2 separate regions of the Homo sapiens genome follow, and region 1 is linked to region 2. The links are contacts of gene promoters, found by promoter capture Hi-C in blood cells and fetal thymus (Javierre and others, 2016). All regions are on one chromosome and are shown on one strand. Each heading gives the region's core, a stretch centred on a gene start or on the middle of the fragment in contact. The rest is flanking DNA. Distances are from core to core; before and after follow the strand shown. Region 1 overlaps CMSS1 (cms1 ribosomal small subunit homolog). Region 2 holds the start of ADGRG7 (adhesion G protein-coupled receptor G7).

What was found. Contacts are between HindIII fragments. The CHiCAGO score rates a contact against its expected background, and 5 or more counts as called.
Region 1: a fragment that was not itself captured here is called in contact with the fragment with the promoter of ADGRG7 in region 2 in 1 of 17 cell types (total B cells); the score reaches 5.3 in total B cells.

The regions. Positions count from the first base shown.
Region 1 is chr3:99,857,671-99,862,351 of GRCh38, reverse strand. The region is part of intron 1 of CMSS1 (cms1 ribosomal small subunit homolog); the gene reads right to left. The region is part of intron 4 of FILIP1L (filamin A interacting protein 1 like); the gene reads left to right. The region is part of intron 1 of LOC105374010 (a long non-coding RNA gene); the gene reads right to left. Among named protein-coding and RNA genes, the nearest start is that of HP09053, 36 kb to the right of the region's middle. The HindIII fragment of the contact is 381 bases long and covers 2,601-2,981 here.
Region 2 is chr3:100,607,763-100,612,172 of GRCh38, reverse strand. It overlaps ADGRG7 (adhesion G protein-coupled receptor G7), which reads right to left and starts at 2,572. Exons shown (of 16, transcript NM_032787.3): 1 at 2,202-2,572. The coding sequence starts at 2,316. The HindIII fragment of the contact is 7,171 bases long and covers 1,404-4,410 here.

The DNA of each region.
Region 1 (4,681 bases), core at 1,542-4,041, 750 kb after region 2:
CTATTCTTCCCCCAGCTGACCCCTACTTTAGGTCAGCTCATTGTGACTGACGTTGTCTCACTGTGTTGTCTCACTGTCCTACTTTTTTTTCCAATATGCCAAGCAAGTAGCACTTATTTTTATTTGATTTGATTTTTTAAATGAAAATTAAAACTATATTTAGGGCCTATAACATGATGTTTTTATATATCTAGATATTGTGGAATGGCTAAATCAAGCTAATTAGCGTATTTGTTACCTTACATACTTATCATTTTTTTGTGGTGAGAACATCTAAAACCTACTCTTTTAGTACTCACCATCCTACTTCTAATGAGAACGGACATGTATTGTGCCAGGCACTATGATAAGGACTTTTTGTATGGATTGTTTTTTATTAATCTTCAGAACAACCCTATTGTGAGGGAGGCTCTAATATTATCCCCATTCTACAGATGAAGAAAATGAGACTTGTAGGGAGGTTAAATTGCTTGCTCAAGTCACACTAGACAGAAGTTGGAAAGCCGGGATTCAGCTGCAAAAACTGAACTCCAGAGTCTGAATTTCTCGCTCTGCACTGCCCTGCCCTGCCTCTCATAGTTTTCCACTGTCTCGTTCCTATTGGTGCTTCGGTACTAGAGAGTGTACATGCTGTCAGTCATTCCACCTGCCCTCTGCCACCTGCACTGTTTACTGCAATCTCTTGCTGGGGGTAATAGGGAACAGGCAGTAGGGAAGACATTATCCCTGTCTTAAAGAAGGCTACCTTGGGCAAACAGACAAGATACAGAAGAACGCAGATCACAGAGAGTACAAAATCAACTGCAGAGAGTGGGAGGAAGGAATGGAGACAATGATAAACAATGAAAGCATTAGGAACCTGAGGACAAGCCCAGGAGGAGCACCATCACAATGCTAGGTGTAAAGGCAGCTCTGTATGCCATGAACTAGGAGGCACTTTCAGGAATACACACACATCTGTGATAATACAAGGCATCACATGCTGAGTGGCTTTTTGGATACTTCTCCCTAGAGGGACAGGGCAGCCAGGGGAAGGCATCATGGCTGTGGAAGGCCCAGGTAGGCTTTGGAGGATTAAGGGGACATCTACCTGAAACTGTTAGTCTGACAAAGACCTAAAGTCTTAATCTGTTGGAAGACAGGTAATTTTTTTTGGGAGGGCGGGGGTGTATTAACAATCAAAATGGAAAGTATGGAAAAGAGGAAACTTTGATTTAAGGGATCTTTTCTAAATAATCAAGAACCCCAATTCAGAGTGGTGGTGGGAGCAGGGGGTGGGGGAGGAAAACAAAAAGAAAAGTGAGAAAAATGAGTAGACTCTCTAGCACAGCAGTGTATTCACAGTAATTAACTTTTTAAAAGCTCCTTCTTGATAGATGTCATCTGAGTAAACGGCATAAAGAAAACTTCATTTGAGTAGGTATTTTTAATAAGAAAAATTAAAAGAGTGATAGGAGAGGCACAATATTCACGGTATTAAATGAACATCCATTGTCCAAAGGTTCTTACTAGAAAGCTCCCTAACAATACAGTACTGCAGAAGTCAAAACACATTATTTAGGCAGTAATTATCCTGGTACAAATTTACATGTGCTGTACTTGTTGTCACTCCCCTGTCAGTTCCAGTTTCTTCTTCCAGGTCTAGCCTGAGCATCTTTTCAAGTCTCCACCTGGCCCTTTCATAGCAGCATGGACAGTGTCTTTTCTAGCCCAGAATCATGGGCACCTCCTTTGTTCTCAAGATGAAAATATTCTCCTTGTAGCTGCCTAACTACCCAAGTTCTGTGCCTGTGGACCCTCAGACTGGCCTTTTACTTGTTCTGGAACCTCACCTTTCAGAGACCCTTTTTCTCAGTTACTTTGCTCCTTTTTCTGCTCTTAAAAGAGTGAGATTTGCCTCAATTCCAGTCCTTGTGCTCAATTTGAGGATTTCAGTACCGCTTTTTAGAATCCTGATTCTCTGCTAAAAGCTACCAAGCTCCTTATAATTAATGGGTCATTTGACTATTTCCATCTTATTTCACTTCTCCTGACCTCTGGGGGGCCTAGTAAGATTAATCGTTCAGGTGATGAAGAGTAATGACTAACAGTATACCATTTTTACCATATATTCCTCTGACACCAAGCTAAAGCCTCCTTCTTAACTTCCTGCCCTAATTCTTATTTCACAATGAAGGAAAATAGTATTAACCCAAATTGCTGGGTCTGGACCCATTTATGGTATCTCTAAAGGATCTCAGTGATGATGACAGGATCTTCAGTAACAAGGACATAAAGCAGACATAGATGTACACTCATATTCAACTAGCAGATGCCAAAAAAAGTGTTACTGTTCTACTGATCTTGCTGACTAAGTCAAATGAATTGTACATTACATTATGGCTATGGTATGCTGTAGCTGTAATTTTTAGAAAACCTTTGACTTGTGAAATACAAGGAAGCAGCATACACAGAATAAAAAAGACGGGTCACAGCTATTTTTATGAGTGCTCTTAAAATTTAGACTAAACAGTGAAAAGTCCCATAGAAAAAGCAGGGAGGAAAGCAAGGAAACATAAATTATAGGCCTGATACCAAAATTTATCTCAAATAAAGAAGCTTTCCAATAAATTCCATGTAATTACTCTGCAAACTGCTAGAAATCCATGGTTATTTAACCATGAACACAGCTACTATCAACGCAACACAGTTAAAATTATGTATTAGACAAGAATTGCTAAAAGATAAAATGGGATATAATCATAATCAGGCTATCAAAGTCTAGCTGTGAGAGCAGATATAAAAATAAATAAAGGAGTGTGATGTATGCAGTTTTCTGCTTAGTAATCAACATATTAAATCAGGAAGAAAAAGTAATGTATTAAACTAGCTCTGGAATAATGAGAACAAATACAGGAATTTAAGCCCATCAAAATGAAGTTACATACTTAGGACTAGGGTGACTGTTACACTGTTTCAAACATCTTAAGACCAAACAAGCTTTGGTATCATCATACTATTTGGTTGTTACTGGGAGAATACTGTAAGTATGATCAGACTGATCTGTGCAAGAATACAGGCAGGTTTTGGGGAAAAAAGAACTGACAAATAGCAAGTACAGTGCCTTGCACATAGTAGCTGTCACTGTATTTGTCTCATCAAGGTCTGAAATGAATTAAATGTCAGCTGAACTGCATAGCACTATGGATGGACCCATTTATAAAAACCAGGCAACTTAGTGGTTTCCATACTCTTATTTCAAATTGGAGTTTCAAACAAAACACAATGTCTTATGAAAACAGTTTTGTCATTTAGGACTTTTCTGTGGACTGGGAGAGAACATTTGAAGGCAGAGAATCTCCCATCTATGTTTGACGGTTAGCAAGTGACTGGCTTTATTAATGATGGAAACATCAAAGCAGTGACTAAGCCAGTGAATTGGGGGACTTCATCAGGATGAAGCAAAAGGCTGACAGAAGAAGCACAAGGTGACAGCCCAAACCAGACGCTTTTCCAGAGAAAGACAAATTTGCCACTGATGTTTCAACTGTCTATCCTCTGGAGTAATGGTTCTTAAAGTGTGGCCCCCTTTGAGAGTGAAGAAGATATCTTCATAATAACACAACCTTTTTCTCTCTCATTCTCTCAGAAGTGTATATGGAGTTTTCCAGAGGCTCCATGACGTGTGATGATTTCTCTGACAGCTAATGGAATGTGTGAAACAGATCTGAGGATACAGCTGTCTTCAATTAAGCCAGACATTAGTTGCAGAAATGTAAAACAATGCAACTCTTCTCACTAAATAATTTTGTAAAAGTATTTTTTCATAAAAATATGTTATTTAGCAGATGATGGATTTATTATTATTTATTATTTTTAACAAATGATTTTTTTTAAATTTTATTTTTGAGACAGAGTCTTGCTGTGTCGCCCAGGCTGGAGTGCAGTGGTGTGATCTCAGCTCATTGCAACCTCTGCCTCACGGGTTCAAGCAATTCTCCTGCCTCAGCCTCCCAAGTAGCTGGGACCACAGGCACGTGCCACCATGCCCAGCTAATTTTTTGTATTTTTAGTGGAGACAGGGTTTCACCATGTTAGCCAGGATGGTCTCGATCTCCTCACCTCATGATCCGCCTGCCTCAGCCTCCCAAAGTGCTGGGATTATAGGTGTGAGCCACTGCATCTGGCACTAATGAGTATTTTTAAAATCTTAGTTTGAATTTCTAATACAGTAAAGAGATAGATACAGCCCATACACTCAAAAGCTCTTTAGGGTCCTCAAAATTTTTTGAGTGTAAAGGGGTCATGAGACCTAAAAGGTTACGAACTACTGCTCTGGAGCCTTTACTGAATTGTGCTGGAACTATCTCCTTTTTCTTTCCTAATTAGCCTATAAACACTTTGAGAATAGGATCCTCTATCCCCTGTTCATCTCAGGATAGCCTTAGTACTAATGATTGTCTTTGTTGTTTGTATATTAAATGAATAAAAGTCTTGCCATATTCATAACATCAGAAACATTAAATTCAAGATTTACATAGTGAACATAGTGAAAAATAGGTTTCCTTAAAGAGACAGATGAGAAGCTAAGCTGACTCTGAAGTTATTCTCTATTTACAGGCTGATTTCTGAAACTAATAGAAACAATACAGTACCATTAATGGCTTGTGGAATTCGTTTTATTGCTTGATGATCACCCTAA
Region 2 (4,410 bases), core at 1,323-3,822:
AAAGAGACTTAATTTATATGTTCTTTTAATTTATATATATGTTACTCCAGCCTGGAGTGATTCTTCAAAATAAATTTTGAATGCAATAAAATTAATTTATGCAAAATTTTGTGTGTTTATATATATTTTCCCTACTAAGACATTTATAGCTTTCATCAGTTTCTCAGAGATATGTGTGACCTCTCTCCCCCTTAAAAAAATGTAAAAACAATTTATGTCTATACCTGAATAAAGGAACCCAAGCAAGAATATTCAACAATTACATAGGATGGGATGGGATAGGATAAAAAGAAGTGGAGTAGAGTGGAGTGGAGTGAAGTGAAAAGAAACAGAATTTACCAACTCAAATGCACTCTCAATAAAATGTACAAGGCAAAATAGTAACAGCAAATGGTGCCAGTCTTTCACTCTTTTTCTTTAAATGACAGTGAGAACCCTCTCCTTTTCCATCGGGTTTACCCCAAAGCTAAGAGATGACCCTTATATAAACAGCCAATTGAAATATGCTTCTCAGAACAAGAGAAAAGTTTTTCTTTTTGAGGAGCTGGTATGCCTCTATTGTTAGACATGGGATCTTTATTACTTATTATGCCTCCTTTTGGATCTTAGTACTCAGAAAGTTCGGGAATATATTTTGTATTTATTTTCAGCAACTCCCCCCAAGCCTTGAACTTTCAGGTTTTCTGTCCCCCATCCTGCACTCTTTCTCATGTTGTTTTTGTACTTTGGTCCTTGTTTTTAATGGTTTTGCTATAACTGTGTCCTTTATAAGTCATCATAAATTTCCCTTTAAAAATAGATGTCGCTTACATAAAGGAAAAAAGGAACGGGGGGAAGGAAGGGAGGAAGGAAGGAAGGAAGGAAAGAAGAAAGGAAGGAAGGAAGGAAGGAAGGAAGGAAGGAAGGAAGGAAGGAAGGAAGGAAGGAAAAACAAACAAACAAAACTTTGTGAAGTATGTCCTTTAAATGAGGTCTTATAAATTTGGCAGCCTTAATGGGGTAAAATCCATAGTTCATAATTTTTTAACCTGAATGAAACTATTTTACAACCTTAAACAAACAAAAACACATTTGCTCCAAGTTTAAATTTTACTATTTTTGTTCTGGTAAATTTTCTCATTCTAGTTCTCTAAATACTATCGATACAGTATTCTCTAAATACTGGTTAGGGCGGTGGGGTAGGGGGAGGACAAATCCATCCCCAGCTACCACTCCATCAGCAGCCAGTATGTCAGATCCCTCTGTTGGTCTTCAACACTGGATCTTTGCAGCCATGCTCCATGCTCCTGCTAGCTCCCCAACCTTCTGTCCTCCCCAGTTACCTGCTCAGAGGGCATACTGCCTCTCCTGCTGCCTTTCCCGATCGGCATTATTTACCCTTATTTATTGTTTCATTAGAAGCTTTCTCTGATTTTCACGAAAGGGAGTATGTAGCCCATCCAACATTGAATTCCTTTACGGAGAAGCTCTACAGCCCAAGGGATCCAGCATTAGGATCATTGAAATTTCGCGTTCTGAGTTCCAGCGGGCTTTTCTTTAACATCATTGTTTTACTCACTACTTCCCCTCCCACGTCCTCCTTTTCCAGGCCAGCTCTGGCACACAGCGGGGGACTAACAAATGTTCGTTGAATAATCAGGAAAGTCATTTAAAAATGGTTTTTAAATTTTTGATTAGTTTCCTACATCTGGAAAGTGGGAAATTTGTATGCAAACCATGAGATCATTTCACTTAAACCTTAGTGATGAGTTTCTTTAACTTCTCTCTTAAAATGAAATTCCATTCTGTGTATGTTTGATTGTATGTGTGTTATGCATGTGTGTGTATGTGTTTGATGCATGTGTGTGTCCTTGTTCATAACGATTTACCCTTTCCTGAATTTAGCCAAACAGACCTAAATGTGTGTTACTAATCGTTTTAATTATTACTCTTCTACCAATTCAGTCTGGAGTTAAAAGAGCATAAAGAGGCCAATTCAATTATGTCACTCTTCCCCCTGCCCACTCACACCCACACCTATTCATTTCTATTCAACCATCTGCTAGGCTTAACTGACTTGGTCTTTTATATCCCATAAATGGCACCTTGGTGGAATGCCTCAGACTGGACAAGGTACCTCCCAGTACTTGTGCACCAGGTGGCAGGGACAGAGGTCCCATACCTTCTCTTACTCTGAGTTAAACATAGCAGGACAACATTACCTCTTTGGATCCTGATCACAATCCTCCAGATGCCCAGTCCCAAAATGATGCCAGTCAGTAGTCCACACACGACAGCCACCAGCACCCTAAGGTTCCAGGCACGGCAGGAAGCCATGGTGAAGCCAAACCACAAATCCACTCCTGGGTGAGAAATAACTAGCTTCTTTTCTTCTTGAGCTAAAAAGTTTAATCGGAAACTATTCTAAAACAGAAAAACAAGTCCTCCCCTCAGTGATCTGTCAGATGGATGTCTTTGTATTTTAGGACTTTTGAGGCTAATCCAGTAGGATGCAGTTTGAATCTCCTAATAAAAGGTGCATACTCTGCTTTCAATTTCCTCATCCTTCACTCAAGGAGAACATGAAAAAAGTGATTAGAGTTATGGGAATAGGGAGATAACTCAGGGCAATAAAGAAGAAGGGGAGGGACTAGCCACAAGGGTCAAAGAGTGAATGCCCAGACAAGCCACAGAGTGAAGGAAGGGAACAAAATAGAAGAAACCAAAGAGGAAATCACAAAGGCAGTGGTTGCCAGTAGTCACCTATGGCTCGGCTTCCTGTATTTTTGTCTTGGGAGGGTACAGCAGAGATAGACTGGCAGGTGCTTCAGACCACACAAAACACTCTCTCGGGGAAATGAACTAGGTTGTCAATAAGAGGATAAATGGCAATCACCACACATGGTTTTTAGCGCTTGCATTTCTTTAAGGAGCCTACATTTTGACAGATGCAGTTGGTGAGTGTGCATACTGGCACAGGCTGGGTCTTGACAAGCACTAAAGCCCAGCATGATAACCCACCTGCTATGGGCTGAATTGTGTCCCCTCCAACATTCATATGTTGGAGTCCTAACCTTCGGTACCTCAGAATGAGGCCTCACATGGAGATGTGGTTACTGCAGAGGTGATCGAGTTAAAACGAGTTTGTTAGGGTGGTCACTAATCAATATGGCTGGTGTCCTCATAAGAAGAAGAAATCTGAACACAGACATGAATACAGAAAGATGATCTGAAGAGACAGAGAGAGAAGACGGCCATCTACAAGAGAGAGTCCTCAGAAGGAACTGGCTCTGCTGACACCTTGACTTGACTTCTAGCCACCCAAACTGTAAGACAACAAATTTATGTTGTTTAAGCCACCCAGTTTGTGGTACTTTATTAGAGCAGCCCTGGGAAACTAATACATCATCAGAGTAACTACAAACTGGTGTCTCTCTATAGATGCAGCTCTGACCCTCTCCTGCCCAGGCTCCCATGTTCTCCTTCCCTACCCTCTACCCTTACAGGGAAGAACAGATACATGAACATTCACCTCCTCAATCACAGTTTTGTTTTGGTAGAGAGAACAGATGCTCTGGTCTTCTCTGGACACTCCCTTGCTTCATCAAATCCATATTAAATGCCTTTAATGTGTTTGAATTGGTACAAGACATGAACAGGGTCCTCAAAGAACTCATAATTTCTCAGGGGTGAGATACCTAGATATAGCCACCTATAAGGCAAGTCATAACTGCTAAAATAAAAGATCATCATATTTAATTATTATGGAGTGCAGGTGCTCCTTGACTTACAATAAGATTACATCCCAATAAATCCACCTTAAGTTAAAAAATATCTTAAGTCAAAACGCATTAAATATACACCTAACCTGCTGAACATCCTTGCTTAGGCTAGCCTACCTTAAATGTGCCCAAAACACATACAATAGCATAAAATTGGGCAAAATCATCTATCACAAAGCCTATTTTATAATAAAGTGGCGAATATCCCATGTGATATATTGAATACTGTAGTGAAAGTGAAAAACAGAATGGTTGTATGGGTACCCCAAACATGGTTTCTACTGAATGCATATTGCTTTTGCACCATGGTGAAGTTGAAAAATCAGAAGTGAAAAAAACCATCATAAATTGGAAACCTATGTACTAGCCCGTTACTACCTACATACCAGCCCATTAATTCCTTCAGGAAGTATTCAGCAAGGCTTTACCAAAAAAGGCTTTACACTTAAACTGACCTTTAGTTAACCCCCAAACACTATGGGGGTTTCCAATTCTCTGTGACATTCACTTTATAAATGTTTTGCTATAAACATAAGGCCCTAACTTTACCCCTCCCAAGAATTTCAGAAAAACAAATTGAGGTAGCACAAAATGGAAGAACTTAGAAGTACTGCTGCAGAAGTACAACACAAATGAATGCAAACCCATT